Linked DNA regions of Homo sapiens: region 1 is linked to region 2. The links are contacts of gene promoters, found by promoter capture Hi-C in blood cells and fetal thymus (Javierre and others, 2016). All regions are on one chromosome and are shown on one strand. The core of a region is centred on a gene start or on the middle of the fragment in contact, and the rest is flanking DNA. Distances in the headings are between cores, read along the strand shown.

Region 1 (6,678 bases), core at 1,712-4,211, 390 kb after region 2:
TGGTTAACTAGTCAACTTTGATAAAGTAGGAAGTTCAAGCTCATGAAAAACAGCAAACCTTTTAAGAAGTGAAATTTCCATAACTTCATCATAAAATGAATTTCTTTCACTTCTCTTCTGTAGATCCTCAGTTTTAAAGAGAAGTTTGAAAAACTGTTTTATTGGGTTAGAATACTATAATTCTACTGCAAATAAAATATCTTTTAAACAGGACAAGTGAATTAATGTATGATGTTCTTGATGAATCCTTACGAAGAGCTGAGTTAAATCACAATGTCACATATGGTAGGTAATATATGTAAATATTACTCTAATGACTAATAATGTTTTTTAGTATTGCAGTTAAATCTGTGTTAGAATGCTATAAATTCCAATAGAATTTTATACACTGATTTTAAGATAGTTCTTTGGATTATTATTTTTTCAATGTAAGCATTTAATTACTGATAGATAAGAGTAATTTGAACTCATGGCATGTTCTAAATGTTGACCTAAGTTTATTATTATAATTGTCTCTATTGAAAACACATATCAATTATCTATTTTTTTCAAGTATCTAATTGACTGTGAAGATAACTCCATAGATTTGTTCCATGCTTGGTAAACATTTACGGTATTCAAAGACAGTTCTTAAATAAATCAATCGACTAGTTGTCAGATATTTTATTAAATTTCTGTTATTTGTCAGTCCCTATGCAAGGTACTTAGAATACAGCAGTGAATAAAACATTATGGGGCTTATAAACTAGATTGATGGACAGGGATAGGTGTTGTTAATGTTACAAAAGAGAATTGCAGGGCATGGTGGGAGAATATAGCAGCTAGTCTTAGGTGAGGGGAAGAATAAAGAAGGTTTTCCTGAGAAAGAAATATTTAAGAAGACATCTGAAGGATGAATAGGATATAGGCAGGAATATATAGACGTGGAATAATAGTATACTATTTTGTGAAGAGACAATAAATTGTTACATGCAATTTAAAAATTAGTAATAGGAGACAAGAGTAAGTTGAGGGAAGGGGGTAGAAAACTGAGAAAGTAGCCAAAAAAACTTCCAATTTTAACAGCCAACGGGAGGAGCTGTTCTTTTTGATTAGCCTGAGAAAGCTCAGTGAGGAAATTGAGATATTTGGAGCTATTTAAAAGGTAGAACAGTTTGAATTTTGCATGCTCTGGAGGACAACAGTAGAAGAGGCACTGAGAGATGTAACTCAAATGAGAAGTCATTTCTTAATCTGGTAAAATATCATGAAGTAGGAAATGAAGAGCATTACTTTTTCTTTGAGACAAGGATAACCTGCGGACCTTTAAGAACAATGGTTGTAGAAATGTAGGTTAGACCAGAGGACAGAAATTGAACTAGTTTAACTGAAATAAAAAGTGCCTGACAAAGATGCAGTCCAAATAAGGAAAAAGGATTGTGTGTATGAGACTAATACAAGAAAAATAATGCACATGGTAGTGAATTGGGGTGGTAAACTTTGAAGGATAGATTTTTGTTTTGCATGTATGAATGGTAATTAAGGTAATAAGGATGCTTTATTAATTTGTTCAGCCAGCATTTATAGAGTGCCTGTGAAACAAAAACTTGATTGTGTTTTAAACTAGGTGCGGATTGAGGAAAGAGTTGATTGACTTATGTATCTCTCCATGCTAAGTGTGGAAAGTAAAGGGAAGAATAAGGTAGACACAGGCCTTGTCCTTATGAGTATATAGTGTAATAAACAGTTGATATTATATAGGTTCCTGCTATGCAGGAATAAGGGGTCACAGATGTGGATGACCCTTATTGAAGCAGGTGATTTTCTGAGAAGATCTAGAAAAGTGTCAGAATTTTTCCAGTAAGTTAAAGTAATTTAAAGTTTTTTGTTTGCGATGTAACCAGTGTCCAGGATAAGGGTTTGAAAGTCTTTCGGGAAATTCTGCTTAAAATTCAGTTAAAAATCTGCTTTTTTTTTTTCCCTTGCAGAAAGTTTTTTTTATTTTATTTTAATAATTGACATTTCAGCTTTAATTTTTTTATTTTTTTGAATAGGTAATATATGCACATGGGTCAAAATTCAAAAGGTACAAAAGGGTATACAATGAACAGTAAGTGTCCTTTCCACCCTTATCACCCACCACCCAGTTCCCTTTCCTGGGGATAACCACTGTTACCCGTTCCTTTTGATTTGGAGAATACTGTATACCTGAGGAAATATTTTTTAATATTTTCCAGAATGACCCTTTTATTAAGATTGCTTGGCCAGGCATGGTGGCTCACGCCTGTGATCCCAGCACTTTGGGAGGCCGAGGTGGGCGGATCACAAGGTCGGGAGTTCAAGACCAACCTGGCCAATATGGTGAAACCCTGTCTCTACTAAAAATACAAATATTAGCTGGGCATGGTGGCGTGTTCCTGTAATCCCAGCTACTCGGGAGGCTGATGCAGGAGAATTGCTTGAACCGGGACCTGGGAGGCAGAGGTTACAGTGAGCCAAGATCATGCCACTGCACTCTAGCCTTTGCTACATAGCAAGACTCTGTCTCAAAAAAAAAAAATGATTGCTTGAACCAACACCAACAGTTTCTTTCTTTGCAGGCTCTTGGTCCAGTGTTTCACCTTGCTACAGAAACCTTATAGTTCCTGTTGTTTCATTTCCTTTGTTTAGCTTTTCATTGTTATGCTTTTCTCTATATCTGTATTGATAGAGCTTATAACTTACATTGATTATATCAGTGGTAGAGTATTTGCTAGCAATCCTGATATAGGTATTTTACTGCTTAAGAATGTTAATTTTAATTGTAAGCTTCATAAGGGCAGGGACTGTGTCTCTCTTATTAACCAGCATATCTCAGTAGCTGGTACTGTGTTAATGAGTAATATGCTTTAATTGAATTAAAGGAAGAAGAAGTTATTTACTTTATCAGTTATCTAAGTGGGTTTCAGTATTAGTACTTTCTATATTTTATTTTTATGGAAGCTCTATTATTACAATTTAGTGTCTAATCAAGAAATAAATTACATTAAAGACATCTATTGAATATCTGCTATGTGCCAGGCATTGTATAAAGTGGTGTATAGGATATGAAGAAGTATAATATATGACCTTTGTCTTTAAGAAATTCACAATATAGTGGAAAGATAACTTGTTCATGAAAGCTTAATACCAGTGTAAGGCAGAATGTGAAGGGATGGTTCAGGGAAATAAGTATTGTAGGAGTTCCGAGGAAGTAGAGATCATTAAGGGCCTGAGGGCACAGATAGGGATTTACTGATGTGATAGGACCCTGAAAGGTAGATAAGATTTAGATAGGCAGAAGGGAGATTGAAGGGGCTTTTAGGTGGAGGGAACATGAGAGAAGGTGTAGACATGGGGCTATTTAAAAACAGTTTCAGAGACAATGTCTCACCAGTCTGAAAGGATAATTTATGGTGGGGAGCAGTGGAAGGGCGGTATTGTGGAGGACCTGTCACAACAGCCAAATGAGTTTGGATTTGTAAATCCGGAGGTATGGAAGGTTTTTGGATAAGGTACTGATAACATGAGAATATCATTTTTAGTAAATTAGTAAATTGAGAAAATTATATAAAATGGAGTACAAGGGACAAAAGCCATCAAAAGTAGGTAGATAGAAGTACTTTTCCGTTTTTTTTCTCACTAATTTCACCTAAAACCCTTGGATACTATGTATAAGAAACATAAGACTCAGGAAGGTGGAGAACAAGTCAGGCTGGTTAGAGACCTCAGGACACAAGGAAAGAAACAGACACGGTGGTGTGTACCCTGGGTTTTCTTTTTGCCTCGGGTACCCCAGACTGGGTACTGAAGAGCCAGCAGTCTGGAAATGCCAACAGACGCAGACAAAAACACCCCCAGAAAAGCCTGCCCTCTCTCACCAAAGGACCAAGAAGAAAAGGGAAATTAGCAAGGTAGAAAACTTTTAGATGATAACCCCTCTATTCCTTCCAAGCATAGGAAAAAACTGTGGACCCATCCCCTCCAGCAAAGGCTGAGGAAAAAGCCAAGATTTCCATCATCACCAGGTATAATGACATGCCCCAACACACCCTCCCTAACCCCCCACTAGAGTGGTGACAGAAGCCCAAGAGACAGCTGGAATTTCATTGATGCCAGGTGATAAGGAAGGCCCCTTCCTTACGCTGTCAGAGGTGACTTGGGAAGTCTGGATTTTTCCCATCTGGAAGTAGGGAGTAAAGAGGTAATTTTCCCCTCTTTGTGGCCAGGGTTCGGAGGCGTGGGTGTTAGAGAAAGCCTGGTGGACAGTCAGAACTTCCACTCCTGATCAGCGATAATGAGGCCACTCCCTCATAGTGTCACTGGAGGCCACAAAGGAAGCAGTAATGAGGTACCCCTCTCTCTCCCAGGCAGGGTAGAATCAGTTGATACTCCCTCCAACAATAACCAGGAGCCTCTCCATCCCCAGGTATCAAAGGAGACAGAGTAGAGAGCCTGGATTCCATTCCCATTGGGTGATACCTCCTCTCTCCTGCCAGAATAATGTCAGTAGATACTTATTTAACTTAATTAAAGTGAGAGTAAACTCTATTCTGAGGGATAAGGTGTCAGAAGAACTTCACATTTTGTTTGAGCATACATAATCCAACCCAAAATATCTATGATGAAACTGCAGTGTCATAAATGGTGGAACATTATTAATTTTTAATTTAGTAATTTATGCTTTATAGCATTTTAATTAGTACCAAGAGAGTAACCAAGAGTACTGAAGAGTAACCAAGTTCCATGTTGTATTTTTAAGTTTAGAAACCCTCAGTTGTGGCCGGGCAAGGTGGCTCATGCCTGTAATCCCAGCACTTTGGGAGGCTGAGTTGGGCAGATCACTTGAGGTTAGGAGTTCAAAACCAGCCTGGCCAACATGGTGAAACCCTGTCTCTACTAAAAATACAAAAATTAGCTGGCCATGATGGTGCACGCTTGTACTGCCAGCTACTTGGGAGGCCAAGGCAGGAGAATCACTTGAACCTGGGGGGTGGAGGTTGCAGACTGCATCTCAAAAAAAAAAAAAGAAATTCTCAGTTGTATTTTACTTCACCACCACAGAGAGGAGACAGCAGAGTGGCTGCTCTTTCAATTATGAACTTATACTTAGATATTTGTAGAGTTGGAGAATAAAATGACTTAGCTCTGGGTGAGAAAATAATTTAAAAATCAATTTAATTCATTTTCAGCTCAATTATGCCTAAGGAAACTAAAAATAAGTGCTGTTTTTGAACTATTATTTTTTTTCCCATGTTGGCACCCCAGAAACTTTATGAGCATCTGAATATAAACGTTTAAATTTTGGATGGGTAATGGCAGGCTTTTGTTAGTAAAACAATTTAATAGCAAGAGAGTTCTTAATGGTAGGAAGCCGTAATGAAAAATGTGTCAGTTATGTTGGAAAATGGAATATCATCATTTGAAATCTTAGGACTGTCATGGTAGTTCACAGTTCAGCAAACTTTTTCTGAAAAGAGGGCCAGATAGTAAATATTTTAGGCTTTGCAGGTCATGGAGGTTTCTGTCGCATATTCTCCTTTGCTTTTTGTTTTGTTTTTTACAGCCTTTTAAAAATGTAAAAATCTTTCTTTAGTTCACAGGCCTATAAAAATAGGCTGAAGGCTGGATTTAGTGGCATTTTAAAAATAGGCTGAAGGCTGGATTTAGTGGCAGTTTCTCCATTCCTGCCTTATCTTATTAGTCAATTGACTAAGGTTCTCTTTGTTTAGTTTGTCTAGTTCATGAATCATAAAGCGAACTTTTTTCACAGCACAGAGTAAAGACATTTTATAGCATAGCATCTGAATATACAAAGTCTCTTTAGGTTCAGCCAACTTACTCTGTAGTTTTCATTTAAAGTCAGTTCCTTTCTTAAAGAAAAATTAATATATCTGATTTTTTTTCTGTCTCTGTTATAGAAGAGGTTTAAAATTTTTTTTTGTCTTTTCTTTCCTTGTAAATTTGAGAAAAAGACAGAGGTTTATAGAAGTTTTTTCCACAAAATTTATTTGTGCATTAATCGATAGGCAACATAGTGTAAAACATAGCTAGCTGAATATTCAGAATATATTTTGTACATAAAGAGAATGTCGGGTTATATTTTAAGCTTTTGGAAATAGAGAAGGAGTGATTGTATCAGGACACTTGATATACTTCAACTTGTACTAGAACAGTTTTTAAGTGTTGATTCTGTACCTTCACTGTGTCACACTTCTGATACTATGATTCCATAGAACACATAAGACTTAATGTCCTTTCAGTGATTTTTCTTTATCATGGCAAAGCTCCAACCGCATGACTCATGCTTTTTCAAATAATTTGAAAAAAACTTTAGTGTCCATTTTGATCATTCACTTTGATCATCTGTCATAGTGATGAGACTTTCGAATGTATCAGAAAATAAAATTTGAATGCTATCAAGATGTCCAGTAGATTATTTTATGTGCTTTGAGGTTATTTTAAAGAATAGTTTGAAGATTTATGAGTAGGGACTGTATCTTTGAAATAAATACTGGATCATCCTATAAAATGATTATGTTGAAATAAACTACATACGCAATTTTGGCACGTAAATGGTCGAAACTATTTGAGAATAAACCATTTTAAAGCATTAAAGGAACGTGGGAAATATCTTTTTATATAGGAATAATGAATCTGTTATTGATGTTTCCATTAGAA
Region 2 (6,347 bases), core at 1,884-4,383:
GAAAAATGGAAGCTGCTGATAAAGGTTCAGGACTATCCTATTTCAAGGTCATTAACTCTACTTACCTTTTTTAGAGCTTCATGAAGTTCATTTAGGACACAAATCAAGAATTCCTGAGCATCTTGTTGCATCTTTTTCGTAAATGCTGGGTAGAGGTTGCCAAGAGCTGACCAGAATATTTCTGGTGAGACACAGTCTGAGTCTCCCAGCCACATGTCTGTCATCAGATAGGCAAAAGCAGTGGCAACTTCACTGCAATCGCTTGGAAGAAGAAAGGGATATGTTTCTGGCTGATTTAATGAAAAGAAGGCACCTAATCACCCAAGCCTAGGAAATTAGTCTCAAAATGGAAGAACGTGGTGTCTCATGCCTGTAACCCCAGCACTTTGGGAGGCCAATGCAGGAGGATAGCTTGAGCCCCCAGAAGGTCGAGGCTGCAGTGAGCTGTGATCATACCACTACTTCACCCCAGCTTGGGTGACAGAACAAGACTGTCTAAAAGAAAAAAAAGGATGCCAGGCTCAGTGGCTCACACCTGTAATGCCAGCACTTTGGGGGGCCGAGGTGGTAGGTTGGGAGGGGTGGATCACTTGAGGCCAGGAGCTCAAGACCAGCCTGGCCAACATGGTGAAACCCCGTCTCTACTAAAAATACAAAAAATTACAAAAATACAAAAAAAATTAGCCAGGCATGGTGGCGCGTGCCTGTAATCCCAGCTACTCAGGAGGCTGAGGCAGGAGGGTCACTTGAACCCGAGGAACAGAGGTTGCAGGGAGCCAAGATCGCACCACTGCACTCCAGCCTGGGCAACAGAACGAGACCCTGGCTCAACAACAACAATAAAAAAAAATAAAAAATAAAAAAAAAAGGAGCTGCATTCATTTCTTGGTTGCCCTTCCCACTTTTACTTACTCTAGCGTGTTATCTGGGAAGCTACAACCTCTACTGACTTGTTTGTTTATCTCTTAATAGGGATTCCAGAGTTCCTTCTCTAACCTCATCTGTGGGGAAGTGGGGGTGGGGGCTGGGCTGCAGGGAATGCAAATGGTCTTACTTTTGCAGAGCGGTGATATACTTCCCGGTGAGAAAGTATTCCACCAGCGGCAAGATGCTGCAGAGACACTGTGAGATGGCATTCACGCAGCATGTGTTGCCCAAGTTCCACAAGCCAGTGACACCCTGAAAATGGGGCTGGTTCCCATCAGCCTCCTTAACTGGAAGGGTATCATAGTAATCTGTGCACTCTGCACTGTGTTGGTGCCACATGGGAAGAAAGGGTTTTGAGAGAACAAAATATGTACAAATGACAATAAGCTTCTCTTAATATTATGAAATAAAGAAGAGTTCTTAATAAGACTTCCTCCAAACACATTCCCTACCAAGGACAGGAAGTATTGGAACTTGGAGTCTAAAATTGTATTATGGCAGAGCATAGTGGCTCACACCTGTAATCCCAGCCCTTTGGGAGGCCGAGGTGGGAGGATTGCTTGAGGCCAGGAGTTTGAGACCAGCCAGGGTAACATAGTGAGATCTTGTCTCTATTACATAAATAAATTAAATTAAAAACAAAATTACATAACTTAGACCAGAACTGTGAACAAGTACCTGAAGCCAAATAAGACAGATAAAAATTTCCTTCTAAAACTAAAGCAAGACAACTGACAACTTGCTGGGCAAGTAATTAAATTATTATTATTATTATTAATAGTTAATAAAACAATAGCTATCAGGTAGTGAGCCTGGCACTATTTAAGTACTTAACATGCATTTTCCCATTAAATCTTTCAACAATTGTGTAAGGCAGGAACGATTATTTTTACATCCCATTTTACAGATGAGATGTCAGGTTTAAATGATGTAGTCATTTACTCATGGGGTGTGTGGTGGTATGTAAAAAAAGGAATATCCACCTATCTGTTTACCTCCCTCCCTCTCTCCCAACATACCTATCCATTAAGATATTTGGATTTACATATATTAAGATTGTCTATATATATTAAGATTGTCTCTATATATGTGATATATATGTATATATTTGTATATATATGTATGTATGGCATATATATTGAAGGCATAATATATGCACATTAAGAGCATGAATATATATATCTTAAGAGCACACATATGTGTATATGTGTATGTATATAGCTATATACATATAAACACACACACACACATATACACGGAGAGGAGAAAGAGCACAGACTTTGTAAAAATATAGATCTTAGTTTAAATCCCAACTATGCCGTTTATTAATTATAGGATCTGGGATTCTATGTCCGTTTCTCATCTATAAAATAGGAATAATATCATCTGCCTGATAGGATGGTTGTGAGGATTATGCAGGTATCATGCAAGCTACTTGACACAGGTTCGTCTAAATGACAACTGAAAAATTTTTTTAAGTGATTGATCTAGGATGTCCTTCCCAGTAAGCTACAGGATTAGAGTGTTCATGTGAATTGCCCAGACCTGCCTGCACAGAGAGAACACTGAGGGTTCCAAACGGGACCTCCTCTCCCTGCACAGAGCTTCCTCTTACAATTTTTTGTATTGTGCCAGGCAGCCTGGTATCTATGTCCTCTCGGATTTTTCTTTCCATATATTGTATCTAAAGTTGGGGCTCCATGAGACAGTGACCTTACCTCATACATACTTTTAAGTACAGTTATGCCAGTTTGAAAAGTGTTCACTGTTATAAGCATGGTCATTTTCACTTTTACTCACTGATACCACAGGAGGTCCTAGACTGTCACCCTTTAGGAAGGACATGTATTTATTGCCAAGATATTAGGTACAATCTTCCTTCCTTTCCGGGGACCTTCCATGGGTCACACCTGGGAGAACCCTCCTGAATGCAGTGTGTGTCCCCTGACTCCTCTGAGCTTGACTTTCCCACCACTGGGCTAATCTAGAAAGCTGTAGTAGATCAAGGCTCACAGGACGTGGTAGATATCGAAGTCATCTGCAGGGAGAGACGGCTGAGAAGTCATTTTAATGGAACCACGTTGGACTTTTGCTTCTATTCAGGAGCTACATCTATTCCTTTCAACTTCATTTCTCTGAGCCTGTTAACGCTGGCTTTTTGTTTTAAACAATTGATATGCTCCTCTCTCTTCCAGTAGCTGCGAACTGATTTTCACCTGTATCAGGCACCACTCCAACTTGGATTTTCCGTACATCATAATCCTTTCCATTCACCTTCAAGATTCTATCATGTTGCCATGAGACACTGTTACTGGGTTGTCTGAAATGTTTTAGAAAGATTAGGCTCCAGAGAATGAACTACACATATAACCTCTCTTCCTTCTTCCATCACTCAGTTTCTCTTGTGTATATATATATTACACATACACACACACACACTTAACATGTGCACAAAAATTTACCGCCACTGAGTTAGTGGACACTACGGCAACCCTGCCTGCTCTGGGCACTCATTCCCCCTTCCCAGCGACTACACCACACCTAGGAGCCCTGAGGGAATTTCCTCACCCCGGGGAGCGAGGATTTCCACTTCTATTCAGGAGCTAGATCTATCCGGACTGAATACCGGATCAGAAAAAAAAAATTGCCATAAAAGAACATTATGGGAACGATTGATGAAATTTGAATATGGATAATATGCAGATAGTTTTTTCTATTAATGTTGAATCTTCTGAATTTGATAAGATTGTACTGTGTTTATGCAAGGGGATGCCCTTGTTCTTAGAAAATACACACTGAAGTTTTTCGGGGCACAGGGGCATGATATATGCAACCTATTTTCAAACGGTTCAGGAAGCACACAGGGACAGGAGGACAGGAAGGAAGGGGACTGATAAAGCACATACTATAAAGCCAGTGCACCCACACGCCAGCAGTTGGTGATTCCGAGTGAAGGCCCACTAAAGAGCACTATTCTTGCAACTCTTCTGCAAGTTTAAAAAATTAAAAAGAGGCCGGGCGCATCGGCTCACGCCTGTAATCCCAGCACTTTGGGAGGCTGAGGCGGGAGGATCACGAGGTCAGGAGACAGAGACCATCCTGGCTAACACGGTGAAACCCCATCTCTACTAAAAATACAATTAACTGGGCGTGGTGGCGGGCGCCTGTAGTCCCAGCTACTCGGGAAACTGAGGCAGAAGAATGACGTGAACCCGGGAGGCGGAGCTTGCCGTGAGCCGAGATCGCGCCACTGCACTCCAGCCTGGGCAACAAAGCGAAGACTCGGTCTCAAAAAAAGAAAAAAAAAATTAAAAAGAAAGAATATATTACACATATTTTTTGCTAAAATGGATTTCTCTCCAGATATATGACTGGTAAGTCAAAAAAAGCAAGGTGTTGAGGAATCCATAGTATGCACCCCAACTTATGTCTAAATGGTTAAAAAAAACCCACATATATGCTCAGGCTACACGAAGATATTTAGAATATTCATTCTTTGACACCTGGATAAGGAATCCTGGCAAGTAGAGCTGTCCTCTCTTGCAGGTATTTGATATTTGCGATGTATTTACAGAGGTATCTCTCCAAGTCACCTCAGTGGTGGTTCTGCAGGACTTAAATCCTGTAAACTTGCTCTATTTGTCAGTGAGGCTCTCCCAAGTCCTTCATTTTCTCCTAATCAATAGGGTCTTTTAAAAGTTTCATTTTGTGTTTGATGCTGGTAGGTAAAAATACAATTATTTGTCATATGTTGGTTGTCTATCCAGGAACCTTTCTAACCTGACTTACTCTTTAATTTTTTAATTTTTATTTAAATAGAGACAGGGTCTCGCTATGTTGCCCAGGCTGGTCTCGAACTCATGGGCTCAAGCAATCCTCCCACCTCACCCTCCCAAAGTGCTAGGATTACAGATGTGAGCCCCTGAGTATGGCCTAACTTGACTTACTTAAGTCTAATTTTTACATAGGTTCTTTGGATTTTTTATAAACACATTCAAGTTGTCTGCAACAAAATCAGTTTAATTTTTTTCTGAGTCTTACTTCTTCTTTACTAGTGAGGACTGCCAGTAAAATAGTGAAAATAGTGAAAAATTGTGAACATAGTAAAATAGTGAATAGAAGTGGAGATAGCTAATTGCTTAACTCAGAGAGAAAGCTTTGGATAATTCACCATTAAGTATGATGTTTGCAGACATAGTATTGAAGAGTTGTAATCATGAATGGATAGTGAGTATGACCAGATTTCTCTGTATTTATTGAGGTAATCATGAGATTTTCTTTCTTATTCTGTTATTGTTGTTCATTATCAATGATGGTCACATATTAATCTTCTATTCCTCAGGTATATTTTGTTTGAGCTGTAGTTATTATTTTCGTGAATTGTTGGGTTCTAGTTGTTAATCTTTTTGTTCAAGGGTTTTGTATCTATGTTCATGAGTTAGATTATCTATGTGTTAATATTCTGTGCTCTATAACAAACTACTAAGCTTAGTTTAAAACCAGACATGGGGCTGGGTGTGGTGGCTCATGCCTGTAATCCCAGCACTTGGGGAGGCCGAGGTAGGAGAATCGCTTGAGTCCAGGAATTCAAGACCAGTTTGGGCAACACAGTGAGAATATCCCCCACCCCCACCCCCATTCCCCCCCACCCCACTCTCCACCCTCCGTCTACCAAAAAAAATAATAATAATAATTAGCCGGGCATGGTGGTGTATGACTGTAGTTCCAGCTACTCAGGAAGCCAAGGTGGAAGGATCACTTGAGCCCAGGACGTCATGCTTGCAGTGAGCTGTGATTGTGCCATTGCACTCCAGCCTGGGTGACAGAGACCCTGTCTCAAAAAGAACCCCAAAAGCCAGGAGTGGTGGCTTACACTTGCAATCCCAGCGTTTTGGGAGGCTGAGGCGGGTAGATCACTTGAGGCCAGGAGTTAGAGACCAGCCTGGCCAACATGGCGAAACCCTGTCTCTACTAAAAATACAAAAAGAATAGCTGGGCATGGTGGCACGGGCCTGTAATCCTAGCTACTCTGGAATCTGAGGCACGAGAATCCCTTGAACCTGGGAGGCGGAAATTGCAGTGAGTCAAGATCATGCCACTGCCCTCTAGCCTGGGCAATAGAACAAGACTGTCTCAAAACAAAACAAAACAAAACTCAAAAAGGAAAACCAGATATAGTTTAGCTGGGATCTCACATTGCATTTAGTTTTCATGTCCCTTTTAGGCTCCTTCAACCTGAAACGGTTCTATGTATTTCCTTGATTTTCATGAACTTGACTTTTGAAGATTACTGACCAATTATTGTGAAGAATATCCCTTAATTTCTATTCAGGAGCTACATCTATCCGGACTGAATCCCAGATCAGAAAAAAAAAATTGCCATAAAAGAACATTAGGGGAACTATGTTCTCTGATGTTTC

Evidence for each region. Contacts are between HindIII fragments. The CHiCAGO score rates a contact against its expected background, and 5 or more counts as called.
Region 1: a fragment that was not itself captured here is called in contact with the fragment with the promoter of USP50 in region 2 in 3 of 17 cell types (naive CD4 T cells, activated CD4 T cells and total CD8 T cells); the score reaches 6.3 in naive CD4 T cells.

Annotation. Positions count from the first base shown.
Region 1 is chr15:50,934,413-50,941,090 of GRCh38, forward strand. AP4E1 (adaptor related protein complex 4 subunit epsilon 1) reads left to right here. Exons shown (of 21, transcript NM_007347.5): 8 at 212-285. Among named protein-coding and RNA genes, the nearest start is that of AP4E1, 29 kb to the left of the region's middle. The HindIII fragment of the contact is 353 bases long and covers 2,786-3,138 here.
Region 2 is chr15:50,543,533-50,549,879 of GRCh38, forward strand. It overlaps USP50 (ubiquitin specific peptidase 50), which reads right to left and starts at 3,134. Exons shown (of 7, transcript NM_203494.5): 1 at 2,941-3,134; 2 at 1,055-1,249; 3 at 66-261. The coding sequence starts at 2,993. The HindIII fragment of the contact is 3,769 bases long and covers 1,313-5,081 here.